Linked DNA regions of Homo sapiens: region 1 is linked to region 2. The links are contacts of gene promoters, found by promoter capture Hi-C in blood cells and fetal thymus (Javierre and others, 2016). All regions are on one chromosome and are shown on one strand. Each heading gives the region's core, a stretch centred on a gene start or on the middle of the fragment in contact. The rest is flanking DNA. Distances are from core to core; before and after follow the strand shown.

Region 1 (6,255 bases), core at 860-3,359, 4.7 Mb before region 2:
ACTGTCCTTCCTCTTCACGGCAAATAAGACACACAATTCATCTTTCACAAGACCATAAAATGGGACTTCCTTTTTTAAAAAAAAGTTCCTCAATAGAAGCATGCTTAAAAATCTTTCCCACATCCTCTAAACCTTCCAAAGATCCAGTCTTCCCTTCATTATACTTTCCTACAATAACAAATTTTTTTGAAAGAGTACACTCAACCTGTCTGAACTTCAAGATTATAATTTTTATCTAGTACTGTACTTATCTCTGCCACCTACTCAAATTACCCTTAAGGAAACCAAGGATACCTGAAACGCCAAAATCAAATACTTATTTTTCAAGTCTTAACCTTATCTGTCCTGGGGATGAAGGAACTGGTGCAGTGTTCACTAGAATGATAGTAATTATGGAGCTCTTAAGGAGCTCTACTCTGTGCCAGGCACTGTACTAAGCATTCAAAAATGTTCATTTAATCTTCACAACATCCCTGAGAAGTACTACCCCCTTTTAATAGATTAAAATTGGGGCTCAAAATTACCCAGAGGCCAAGTAGTTAGTGAAGCCCATATGATTCCAATGTTTGCAGTCTCTTCCCAATTCTGTGGCATTTTCTCCATCTCTTTCACTATTTCATCAACGACGCTTATAATCAATTCTCTTATTTCACATGCTCTCCTTGGCAATTTCATTTCCTCCCAAAGCTTTAACTACATTCTATATTAGTGCTTCCCAACTTTTTAAATCTTTCTGTAAATATAAACATTTTGTGCTCTCTGTAGCTTATATTTTGAAAATAAGTTTTTTCCCATAGAAATTACAATATTGAATATGTTTGTTCAAACTACACTTCCTTCCACCACTCAAGATCTGTTAACCTCTAATGAATTGCCCCATGATTGACATCAATAGACCTTGATGCAGAAATATTTTATTGGAGAGATATCAAATCAATCTCTATTTCCTCTTCCCATGTCCACTTCTGCTAGACATTTCTCTCGAGTCATAAACATCTTTAACTGTCTAATAAGCATAGTTCCATGACTGTCGCCCCAGGCCCTTCAACATAAACCTGTCTAAAACCAAACTCTCATTTCCCTTAGCAAACCTGTTCTCTGCGTTCTCCAGCTAATCTTGTCACAACCCACCCTTGTCTATTCTTTAAGGTACCTACCTGCAAAACCGTAACGCTGATACTCTGACTTCCTTGAGCTACCAGGTAAAAAAATCAACCACTACAGGAGTGCCTATTATGGCCTGGAGTAGAGGAATGCAAAATAGTTCAAAATATCCTCTTCCTCCTGAAGAAACAGATTTTTTTTTTTTTTTGGAGAGGCATGTTCCAACTTATAAAATTAAAATATATTCACAAGCATTTTAATTTGATCTTTAATCTCTGTTTTACAGGAAAAAAAAATGAGATGTTACTTTCCACTCCTTCATTGTTGAAATAAACTTACACTCAACTAAAAGAAAACAGGTCTGAATACAATAAAAGTCAACAGGACAGCGCAAATAGCCAACTACCCAAGGACACAAAGTGACCTGGAGGCGTTCTGCGGTGGCGCTGCCGTCAAGGCCGGGGCCGCCTGGCCAGACCCTCCCTCAGACGCCCCCCGGGGCCGCCCTCACTCCCGCACGTCCCTCTGCAGCTGTCCTCAGCCGGTGGGGTCGGCAGTGACCGCGGGAAAACCCCGCTTGCTGTGCGACCCAGGGCGCGCTGAGCAGGGGCTGCGGCTGCCGCCGCTGTCCGGCTCCGGTTCCGGCCCCGGCCCCGGGCCCGGCCAGAGCTGAGTCCGGACTCAGCCAAAGCCCCTCGCCTTCAGCTTCCCAGACGTCCGACCAGTGGAAAATTAGCATACCTGGGGCAGAAGGCAGCTGCAGGGCCGGCAGTCCTGGCAAACCTAGAAGGCGGGAATAACCCTGGTGACGGGCGGGGCCGGGCTCCGGCGCTAACTGCATCCACTAGGTTTGGTCAACACAGAGCCGCGCCAACTCTCTGAGGCTGCGCCAAGACCTGAAGCGGCGGACCGAGAGCCCGGGTCTGAGACTGAGAGAGCAACGGAATGGAGGCGGGGTAGAGGCGGAAACACAACCTGCAGGGCCAGAGCGAGGCGCGAGAAGGACGGCGGCGTGAGGGGGCGGGGCGCGCAGCGCGAGAAGGCAGGCACGAGGGGCGAGCGCGAGGCGGGGCACGGCGCGTGGCGTGAGACGGGGCGGGGCGCGCGTATCGGCGCCGCGGCCGCGTGACGCGTTTTCAAATCTTCAACCGCCGCAGCCCACTCGTTTGTGCTTTGCGCCTTCCTCCTCCGCGCCTTGGAGCCGGATCCGGCCCCGGAAACCCGACCTGCAGACGCGGTACCTCTACTGCGTAGAGGCCGTAGCTGGCGGAAGGAGAGAGGCGGCCGTCCTGTCAACAGGCCGGGGGAAGCCGTGCTTTCGCGGCTGCCCGGTGCGACACTTTCTCCGGACCCAGCATGTAGGTGCCGGGCGACTGCCATGAACTCCGGAGCCATGAGGATCCACAGTAAAGGACATTTCCAGGGTAAGAAGCCCCTCCTCCGCCTGCAGTCCCTTTAATCCTTTCCTCCCCTCGTGGTTCCACCATTGATTCTTCAGACTTCTCCCGCCGGGTCCTCAGCTTCTTTTCTTCTGACCGGCCTCTGGGGTCTGAAGGAAGGAGCCCCCGTTCAGTGTTTTGCCTAAGAAGGAACGGATCCTGACCCGGCCCCTCGAGCGCTCTGCCGTTTACAGCGGCGGTCCCAGATTGATTCCCGGTCGTGCCTTCGGTTGAAAACTAGCAAACAATGTGCAGATCCGGGACCTCGCCGGGACTGCGGCGCTGTCTGCTCCCGGGCTCTCGCATATGCTAAGCCTCCGCCCGGGCCCTTGGAGGCGACGGACTGCATCCTCAATTTAAAGTCAGACGCGCTCGTGGCTTTTCGCTTCAGGATTAGATTGAGTGATTGTGGGTGGATTTTTGGTCTTACCCTTGAAAGTTTATTTTCCTTTCCTCATAAGTTGGGGGAAAGCATTGTATTTCAAACACCCCATTGCTGGTTTCAACATTACAAACAGGGAAACAAAAGCAAATTTCCATTTTCAGTCACTTTATTTGGTGAAACATTCCAGCACCTAAGTTTTTTGTACAGGTGTTTGTGTGTGTGTAGTAACTACCAATTTAAGAACAGATTGCGTTTGAAAAATTAATTTTTAAAGCAGTTGCTTGGATCTCAGATCTGTTTCTAATGAAAATAATGAAAGGTTTAGTTCTTCGTAATGGACCGTTAAGTTCTTAATACGTAGACAAATTGTATGTGAAATGGACCGTTTAGTTGTTAATATGCAGACAAACTTTATATGAAACTAAAACTTGAGCAGTCTGAAACCCTTGAGGACTAGGTTATTCTGCGTAACAGAGGATTCTTTCATCGCTAAATGAAGTTTAAACACCAGTTTTGAATGTTCAGCAGAATGGCAGATGCTCAATAAATAGTTGAGTATTAAATATCCCCATGGAGTTTACATCCTAAAAAAAGAAAATCTTTCAAAAGAGTTTTATATAGTTCCGTGCCTCAGGAATAAACACACGAATATTTCTTGCTGAGTCAACTATTATTTTACAATATGCGGTCTGTGAAAGTATATAGGGCATTTTGCCTCTATCCTAAGTAGTACTACAAAGAAATACATTTCAATGCTAATAACTTAAACTGGTAGGGTTGTAAGGATTTTTATTCTGTAATATTGTATAATGAAATATTTTAAAAATAGTAAAAGTGTCTGTGTAAAACATCTGATTCTAAACATCTTTAATAGGTGGAATCCAAGTCAAAAATGAAAAAAACAGACCATCTCTGAAATCTCTGAAAACTGATAACAGGCCAGAAAAATCCAAATGTAAGCCACTTTGGGGAAAAGTATTTTACCTTGACTTACCTTCTGTCACCATATCTGAAAAACTTCAAAAGGACATTAAGGATCTGGGAGGGGTAAGTGAAAACCGTACACTGGCATAGAAGGAAAAATTTGTAACTAGTACTTTCTACTGTGTAATCATTTAAATTTTTCATTTTGGAAAACGCTTCTATTAGCACCAAGCTTAACATTTTTATCAGCTGTTTATCGTTAACAAAAAACCATTTGTTTTAACCTTTTGTGGACTGACAGACCTTTCAGGTTTCTCTGATTAGCAGTCTAGTGTAAAGTTCTTAGAGTGTAAGACTCCCCTGTCCTAGTGGAACTGCTCATTGACTGCTTACTGTAATGTTGGAATGTCCTCCAGATAACAGCAATTTCTTGATTATGAATCTTGGGGAGCTACATAAGTTTGTCTGGACTAGTGTAACAGTTAAGAATGTTACTACAGAACAGCCATGCAAACCACAGTTAAAATTGTTCCTGAGTGATACAGATGTTGTTTCAACAGAATGAATGTTATTAAAGGAAAAGAAATTTGCATTAAGAATCTGGAATACCTTCTTTCCTACCTTATACACTGATTAGATGATTGGGAAATTAGAAAACTCAGGCAAAATTCTAGGACCTTAATAGGATTAAGGTTGATATTGGCTGAATTTTGGCAAATGAGGTAATTAAGATTTTTTTCTGTTTAAAAGGTTCATGCTGGACTTTGACTTTCTGAAGGTCTGCGTCTTTGAATGTCTAAACTGATCCTTTCATTCCCAGACTAGTAACTTTTCAATTTATTTTTATTTTTATTTTGAGACGGAGTCTCATTCTATATGGCCTAGGTTGGAGTGCAGTGGTGCGATCTCAGCTCACTGCAACCTCCTCCTCTCAGGTTCAAGTGATTCTTGTGCCTCAGCCTCTGTCTCCTGAGTAGCTACGATTACAGGCATGTGCCACCACTCCTGGGTAATTTTTGTATTTTTAGTAGAGTCAGGGTTTCACCGTGTTGCCCAGGCTGGTCTCAAACTTCTAACCTCAGGTGATTTGCCCACCTCAGCCTTCTAAAGCGCTGGGATTGCAAGCATGAGCCCTCCAGGCCCAGCCGATTCCCAGACTAGAAACTTATCAGAAGAACATGTGCTAACAGGTTTCCTGGAACTGTTAATATATTTTATTTACTTATCTCTGAAAAGTTATTCTACTTTTTTACTATTCATTTTGTTAAACTAAAACACTGTCACATGCTTGTAATAGTTGTATTTATGGTAATGATCATATGACAGCATTCTTAAAGGTCATGTTTTCTAGGCCTGCCACCCTATTGACTATACACCTATTAAGAGTATCTTAATGTGTTAAGGACCTTAGACATTGAGTAAAAAATACCCCTTCATCTTAGAAACAAAGTACTTGAGGTCCAGAGAAAGTAAATGGCCCAATTAGAGCAGTATTAGCTTCTTAATTCCCACAGCAACATAGTACCTGCACCATTCTGTTCCTCTAGCAATCAATGGCTACAAATGGCTATCTGGCTGGTAATTCACACCTGTAATCCTAGCACTTTTGGAGGCCAAGGCAGGTAGATGACTTGAGGCCAGGAGTTCAAGACCAGCCTGGGCAACATGGCAAAACTCCATGTCTACTGAAAAATACAAAAATTAGCCAAGCATGGTGGTGCATGCCTGTAGTCCCAGCTATTCGGGAGGCCGAGGCATGAGCATCACTTGAACCTGGGAGGCGGAGGTTGCAGTGAGCCAAGATTGTGCCACTGTACCCCAGTATGAGTGACAGTGAGACCCTATGTCCAAAAAAAAAAAAAAAAGGTAGCTCAAAGTAGCTATCTGATACAGTTTGATGACAATTTTCTCAAATATGATGAACAACCCATTAACTCTAGGTCTAATGGTCTAAATCAGTGATACTTAGATTTGTGTTTTTATCAGTAGAACCCTTTAAACAAAATAATATTCAGAAGTCCAATGTGTAAAGCCTGTAAAAAGGGAACCCCTTGGGCTAAAACAGCAGTACAGAGGCTAAAGCAAGAACTACTTGCCCCGTCACCTTCTTTCTTCTATCTCCACAGCAGTTCCTGAGGTAATTGCAAGAAACAAATTTTGAATTACTTCTGCCATACATAATAGTTGAGGGACCTTTTGGTTTTACATACTTAGTCTTTACCCCTGAAATGATTGAAGTAGACCAGTGAAGTTAGGAGCATATTAAGGGTGTAAGTTCCCAAATTTTCCTTTGGATTTCCCAAAAATCCAAAGCTGTGGATTTTCAATGGAATTTGATTTATTAACTTTCTCCTAAAAAATGTCTTATTTATTGAATTCTGATCTTCCCATACTATCTTTTCT
Region 2 (6,385 bases), core at 98-2,597:
CTCATGTTTTCAGTGGACCAAAAATATCTTCCCCTAGGTATGGGGAAGTAACTCAAGTGGAAAGAAGGGATGCTTGAAATTATTGCAAACTCTATTCATTGCATAGATTAGCCACTGGTGGGTACCATGCATCCAGGATTTATGAGGATTTCAAATACGCCGTCCTTTTGCCCCCATAAGTACACTCAAACTCGTGAGACCATGTGCCTCTATTTTTAATTATGAAAATATGGACGCTGTATCTCCACCAGTGGTTAGAACTGTGAAACATCCTAACCACAACGTCCAGAAGGGCGACTGATCGCAGAGCTTCAAGTGATCTTAACTACGTTATGTGTTCCTAACACACTACAGCTGTGTTCCGCGTCAGCGACGCAGGGCAGAACCATCATTGTATTAACCTTTCCCGCTCATGGGACGCGGTGCTTAGTCCCCGGGAACCGACAGGGGCTCCGCCAACAACTCTGCGTCCCGCTCTCGCGGCCCGGACGGCAGCAGCGCAGGTTAACTGGAAATGGCTGGCAAGGAAAACACCTTTTAAAATAATAAAAACAAACCACTTCTCAGGAGCTTTTCCAGCCTGGAATAAGGAATATTTATAAAAACAGTGGTAGAATATTAGGACGTTTCTAGGTTCAGTTTCACCAAGTGAAAAGACCTGGGATAAGACGAGCCCAGGGCTGCACTGGACTTGTGGGATCCAGAGACTACCCAGAAGGGCCCTGCCGTCGAGGGACCCTGATCTCTGCGCGCTTCGGCGGCGCCCGGGTGGCAGCCGGTGTCCCGCCGCGTCCCTGAGAGGCTTCGGCCTCGTCCGACCCCAGGCTGAAGATCAGGTGGCTCGGGGCCGGCAGGTTACCTGCAGCAGATGCAGCTGGGCCACGAGACGCCGCGGCAGGTGGAGGAAGCAGTCGCGAGCGTTGGTGAAGGCCACAGTCACTGCCGCCCCGCCTCCCCCAGCACCCGCCAGGCGATCGCTGCCCCACATCGTCCCGGAGCGTCGCTCTGGGTTCGCCCACCCTAGCGCCGCAAAGGACCCGGGACCCGGCAGGCCGAGGACGTCGGAGCCGGAGGAGATCGATCGGCCCCGCCCCCTGCGGCCCCGCCCCCTCTCCCCGCTGCGCATCCTGCCGTAAGCCTGTAGTGGGTGGGACAAGAAAGCTTCTGTCACCCACCGCGCCTCTCCGCCGAGCCGCTCGGGGGCGGCACCTCGTTCATCAAATCTTCGCACGCAGGAAACGATGGCCGACGCTGTCGATTCTCCAGCCAATCCTGGCACTCCTTAACTCATCCCGCTCTCTTATTGGATAAAAGGGAGCTCAGTAGGGCGGATGTTGTCCTCCCTGCGAGGATCAAAGTAGGCAAGATGGCGTCGAGCGGCGGGGAGCTAGGGAGTTTATTTGATCACCACGTCCAGAGGGCGGTATGCGACACACGGGCCAAATATCGAGAGGGACGACGGCCTCGTGCTGTGAAGGTAAAGTGATTTTGGTTTCATTCGCTCTCCTCGGTAGCTTTATGTGAGTGCTAGCGCCATATGACCAGCCTACGGAAATAAAGGCACGACAAGGCTTCCGTCAGATCTGTCTCTCGTTAGAGCTGGCGTGAAGAACCCTCGGTCAGTTACCAAAGATTCTCACGACGCCTTTGGTCAAGTATTAGAACATCAACTCCACGAGAATAGGCCTTGGTTTTAGTCATTGGATCTTCTGTGTTTACAGTACTACTTGGCACAGGTAAGCACTCAGTGAATATTCGTTGAGTGATTGTTCCCAGTGACTTCTACCGACTCAATTTCTGGAAAAAAATGTCGACTGAAGGTAGTCTGTTATATGCCTTAGGTAGCCTCTCACATGGACTGTTATTCTTTATGCAGAAGGAATGGCAGAAATTTCATTTTGTGTTCTTTTGCTGACTGGGTTGAACAGATTATTTCTTGTTTTCAAAGTTCTCTTTAAAAAAAAATAGAGGCAGATTCGTCCTAGGCTTATTTGCGAAATACGTTTAATAACTCTGCATTTCTTTCAGGTATATACAATCAATTTGGAATCTCAGTACTTATTAATACAAGGAGTTCCTGCTGTGGGAGTCATGAAGGAATTAGTTGAGCGATTCGCTTTATATGGTGCAATTGAACAGTACAATGCTCTAGATGAATACCCAGCAGAAGACTTTACTGAAGTTTATCTTATTAAATTTATGAACTTACAAAGTGCAAGGTAATGTGCAAGTTAAGAAATGACTCATTTCCTCATTTCTTCCATTCATATTTCTGTCATTTTGGCCCCAAGTTTCCCTCATTCATAACTGAATTACCCCAAAACGTAATCTAGCATATCTTCCTCCAGCCTTTTTAAAAGTTAACTTTACTGAAACACTGTATCCATCACATCATTCCCATGCTTAACAATTTAATGTCCTGTAGCTTGGTAGAGTAGAAGTTGGGTTTGGCCAGGCACGGTGGCTCACGCCTGCAATCCCAGCACTCTGGGAGACCGAGGTGGGCGGATCACGAGGTCAGGAGTTTGAGACCAGCCTGGCCAACATGGTGAAACCCCCCTCTCTACTAAAAATACAAAATTAGCTGGGTCTAGTGGCGCAGGCCTGTAATCCCAGCTACTCGGGAGGCTGAGGCAGGAGAATCGCTTGAAACCGGGAGGCAGAGGTTGCAGTGAGCCGAGATTGCGCCATTGCACTCCAGACAGGGCAACAAGAGGGAAGCTCTGCCTCAAAAAAAAAAAAAAAAAAAAAATTTGGGTTTGAAGCCTGGGCGTGGTGACTCACGCCTGTAATCCCAGCACTTTGGGAGACCGAGGCAGGCAGATCACTTGAGGTCAGGGGTTCAAGACAAGCCTGGCCAACATGATGGAAACCCCTCCTCTACTAAAAATACAAAAATTAGCCGGGTGTGGTGGTGCGGACCTGTAGTCCCAGCTACTCAGGTGGCTGAGGCATGGGAATTGCTTGAACCTGGGAGGTGGAGATTGCAGTGAGCAGAGATCATGCCACTGCCCTCCAGCCTAGATGACAGAGCAAGGCTCTGTCTCAAAAAAAAAAAAAAATTCTGGTTTGACGCCAGGCACGTGGCTCACACCTGTAATCCCAGCACTTTGGGAGGTCGAGGTAGGTGGATCACCTGAGGTCAGGAGTTCAAGACCAGTCTGGCCAACATGGTGAAACCCTCACTCTACTAAATACAAAAATTAGCCGGCTGTGTTGGTGCAAACCTTTAATCCCAGCTCCTGGGGAGGCTGAGGCACAAGTATCACTTGAACCCAGAAAGTGGAGGTTGCAGTGAGCCAAGATCATGCCATTGCACTCCAGCCTGGGCAAGAGTGAGACTGTCTCAAAAAAAAAAAAAGAAAAAGTTGGATTTGATCCCAGCACTTTGGAAGGCCAAGGTAGGCAGATTGCTTGAGCCCAGGAGTTCGAGACCAGACTGGCCAACATGGCCAGTATTTTGTATTTTGTAAAAATACAAAAATCAAGCTGGGTGTGTTGGTGCATTCCTGTAGTTCCAGCTACTTGGGAGGCCGAGGTAGGAGAATCAGTTGAGCCCAGGAGGTGGAGGTTGCAGTGAGTCTTATGGGCCACTACACTCCATCCTGGGTGATGGAGTGAGACTCTGTCTCAAAAGAAAAAAAAAGTTGGGTTTGGAGTAAGTTTTCCATTTCCACTGCTTACTAGCTTCATGATCTTGGGCAAGTTATTTAACCTGTTTAAGTTTTTCCTCTTCCATAAAATCTGTATGGTAAAGGGACCTATCTACTTCTTGGGGTTGTATGAGGATGAAATGAGATAATCCATATAAAGGTGTATCCTGGTCAGAATACAGTAAACATTAGCTATTGTGGTTTCTACTGTTACTCCTTTCTGCAAACTGACTCAGTTTTTTCCAGCCTTCTATGTGACATAATCCTCTGCTCCAAAAAGGCTGAAGTATGCAGTGCCTTATCTATTTTTATATTGATCTCTGTTCTCCTCACTAATCTGCTCTGAGACCCATCCTTCTCTGGCTATTACAATTCATATTTTCTTTCTTGTGCTATCAGTAGAACTCATAGTCTACCACAAAAGCACTTGATTTTACTGGGTCTTGTGTGGTTTTCTCAGGCTGCTGTTATATGTAATTTCACTTTCTTAACCAACCTGCCAGCTCCCATGGTTAGGGAAACATTTTCTAGAGCTTTTCTGTTTTCTATAGTACGTAGTCTGGTAGGCTCTGAAGTAAGACATCTGGATTTGAATCCTTGCTCCTCAAACCAGACTATGAGCATGGCTAAGTTACATAATGTCCCAGTGCTTCAGTTTCATTACAGTGTTGTTTTTAGGTGTTAATTCAAGTGAAGCGCTTATGACATTGCCTGGCATATGGTGAAATCTCAACAAGTATTTATCATTATCCCTGGATATAGAAGTAGTTAAATTTATTGTAGTACCTGGCCAGTCATAGATGTTTAGTAAGTATTTATTGACTGAATAACATTCTTCTCATTTTCTCATTGTTATATATTTAATAGTTCCTCAGTTATTGAATGTTTTATGATTATAGTATCTTTCATCTGATTTTTAAGGCATGAATCCCATCACAGAAATACATAGTGCTGAAAAAGCTTAATTGGGTATGAACCAACTCTTCAGGGCCACAGAGAAAAGCTCCATTTTATGACCACAGTTTACATACTTCAGGCCAACCAGCTGGGTCCTTAGTTGTTTAAAGACTAGGGAACAAAGAGGCTCAAAGGGAAGGAAAGGGGAGGCTCTACGAGTACATACTCGATCAATGGGATGAATACTGTCCACAAGCAGAGCATCTTAATTCCCAATCCACAGGATATATATACACGTAGCAAAAGCTGGACTTTGCTCTTTAGATCCAGATATTGCATACTAGTTAAGCTTTCATCCCAAGTAAATCTAGATTAAAAAACTATGCTATCTTGTATTTCCATTCAGGACAGCCAAGAGAAAAATGGATGAACAGAGTTTCTTCGGTGGATTGCTTCATGTGTGCTATGCTCCAGAATTTGAAACAGTTGAAGAAACTAGAAAAAAACTACAAATGCGGAAGGCATATGTAGTAAAAACTACTGAAAATAAAGGTATGGAAAGCATATTGCTAAATGCCTCCTGTGTGTCAGGCACTCTGCCAGGTGTGTCATCATGCAATTCCCAGTCTAGTGGTAGGAGAGGCAAGTAAACCATCACAGTATTCAGTAACTGTGAACCACAGGGTTCTCTGCAGCACACTACATAATCTGGGTTGAGAAGGGAGAAATATTGGTTCATAGAAGACTTCCTATAGTATGTGAGAAGTGGCTGAATTTTAAAGGATAAGTAGACGTTAACTAAATGGGAGAGGAAAAGATGGAAAGGCAAGCCAGGCAAGATGTTTAAATGTTTAGAGGAATAAATGAGCATCATGCATTTAAGGAACTTTAATTAATACAGTATAACCAAAGCCCAAAGGTTTCAGTGAGAGATAAGTTTAGAAAAGTGGGTAAGAAGTGAATCATGGAGGGCCTTGTGTCCCATGCTAAGGAATTAAGGCTTTGACCAGAATGCAGTGAGAAGCAGTTATGATTTGCAGTTGTCAAATCATATAGTTGTCACTGCTAATCATGGAGAAGTTCTACTTTTGACCAGCAATTGGCTAAATGCCCCCACATGCCTGTTCTACCACATAGTGATGGAGAGAAATAAAGTGGGAAAACTCTTGGAAAACTTACTCAGAAATCTGGTAAGAGAGCTGTTGAGAATCCCCAGTCATCTGCAGACATTGAACTCTAACTTGTAAGATAAGTAAATAAATAGCACCAGGAAAACTTGTATGTTTGTGTGGCAAAGGAAATTATAAAATATTAATGTGGAGAAAGACCTTTGACATTATCTGACCTGGGTCCTAATTTTTCTGGGTGAGGAAACTAAGTCTCAGAAAGTTTGTGACCTGCCTATATTATTAGAGATGAATTAAAGACAAAATAAGGGTTAAAACCCAAGCTTTGGACTCTGTCCAGAGTTTACTTTTTAACTGCTTTAATCATCTCAGTGTTGGTGACAGCCTAGGATTATCTTCATTATTTGCTCCCCTTCCTCTTAAGACCTTTTTGCTGTGCTGCTGACCTCAGAATTAAACTATGACTTGTTTGGCCTTGGACACTTTAGTTAAGCTCTCTTTCATCTGCAGCATTCTAGCCTCTACAAGATGCATTTGTATACGTGGTCTTACTTTTCAAAAACTCTTATTATGGAAATTTCAAAACACACAGGCAGAGAGACTAAGTTAACATAACTCCCATGTATTAATATTAACATTAACAATCATCAACACATAGCCAATTTCATCTTTACCACATCTTCCATACTCCATTCCTGTTGTAATCTG

What was found. The method cuts DNA at HindIII sites, captures the fragments that hold promoters and counts their contacts. A CHiCAGO score of 5 or more calls a contact.
Region 1: the fragment with the promoter of SLC25A40 here is called in contact with the fragment with the promoter of RBM48 in region 2 in 2 of 17 cell types (non-activated CD4 T cells and total B cells); the score reaches 8.9 in non-activated CD4 T cells.

The regions. Positions count from the first base shown.
Region 1 is chr7:87,874,251-87,880,505 of GRCh38, forward strand. SLC25A40 (solute carrier family 25 member 40) reads right to left here and starts at 2,110. Exons shown (of 12, transcript NM_018843.4): 1 at 1,846-2,110. It overlaps DBF4 (DBF4-CDC7 kinase regulatory subunit), which reads left to right and starts at 2,243. Exons shown (of 12, transcript NM_006716.4): 1 at 2,243-2,528; 2 at 3,803-3,975. The coding sequence starts at 2,483. RefSeq lists silencers at 1,503-1,952, 2,083-2,342 and enhancers at 1,706-2,215, 2,403-2,522. The HindIII fragment of the contact is 3,397 bases long and covers 686-4,082 here.
Region 2 is chr7:92,527,448-92,533,832 of GRCh38, forward strand. RBM48 (RNA binding motif protein 48) reads left to right here and starts at 1,348. Exons shown (of 5, transcript NM_032120.4): 1 at 1,348-1,477; 2 at 2,029-2,219; 3 at 4,957-5,102. The coding sequence starts at 1,367. It overlaps PEX1 (peroxisomal biogenesis factor 1), which reads right to left and starts at 1,073. Exons shown (of 24, transcript NM_000466.3): 1 at 860-1,073. The coding sequence starts at 988. RefSeq lists enhancers at 492-671, 1,272-1,651 and a silencer at 902-1,131. The HindIII fragment of the contact is 3,452 bases long and covers 1,160-4,611 here.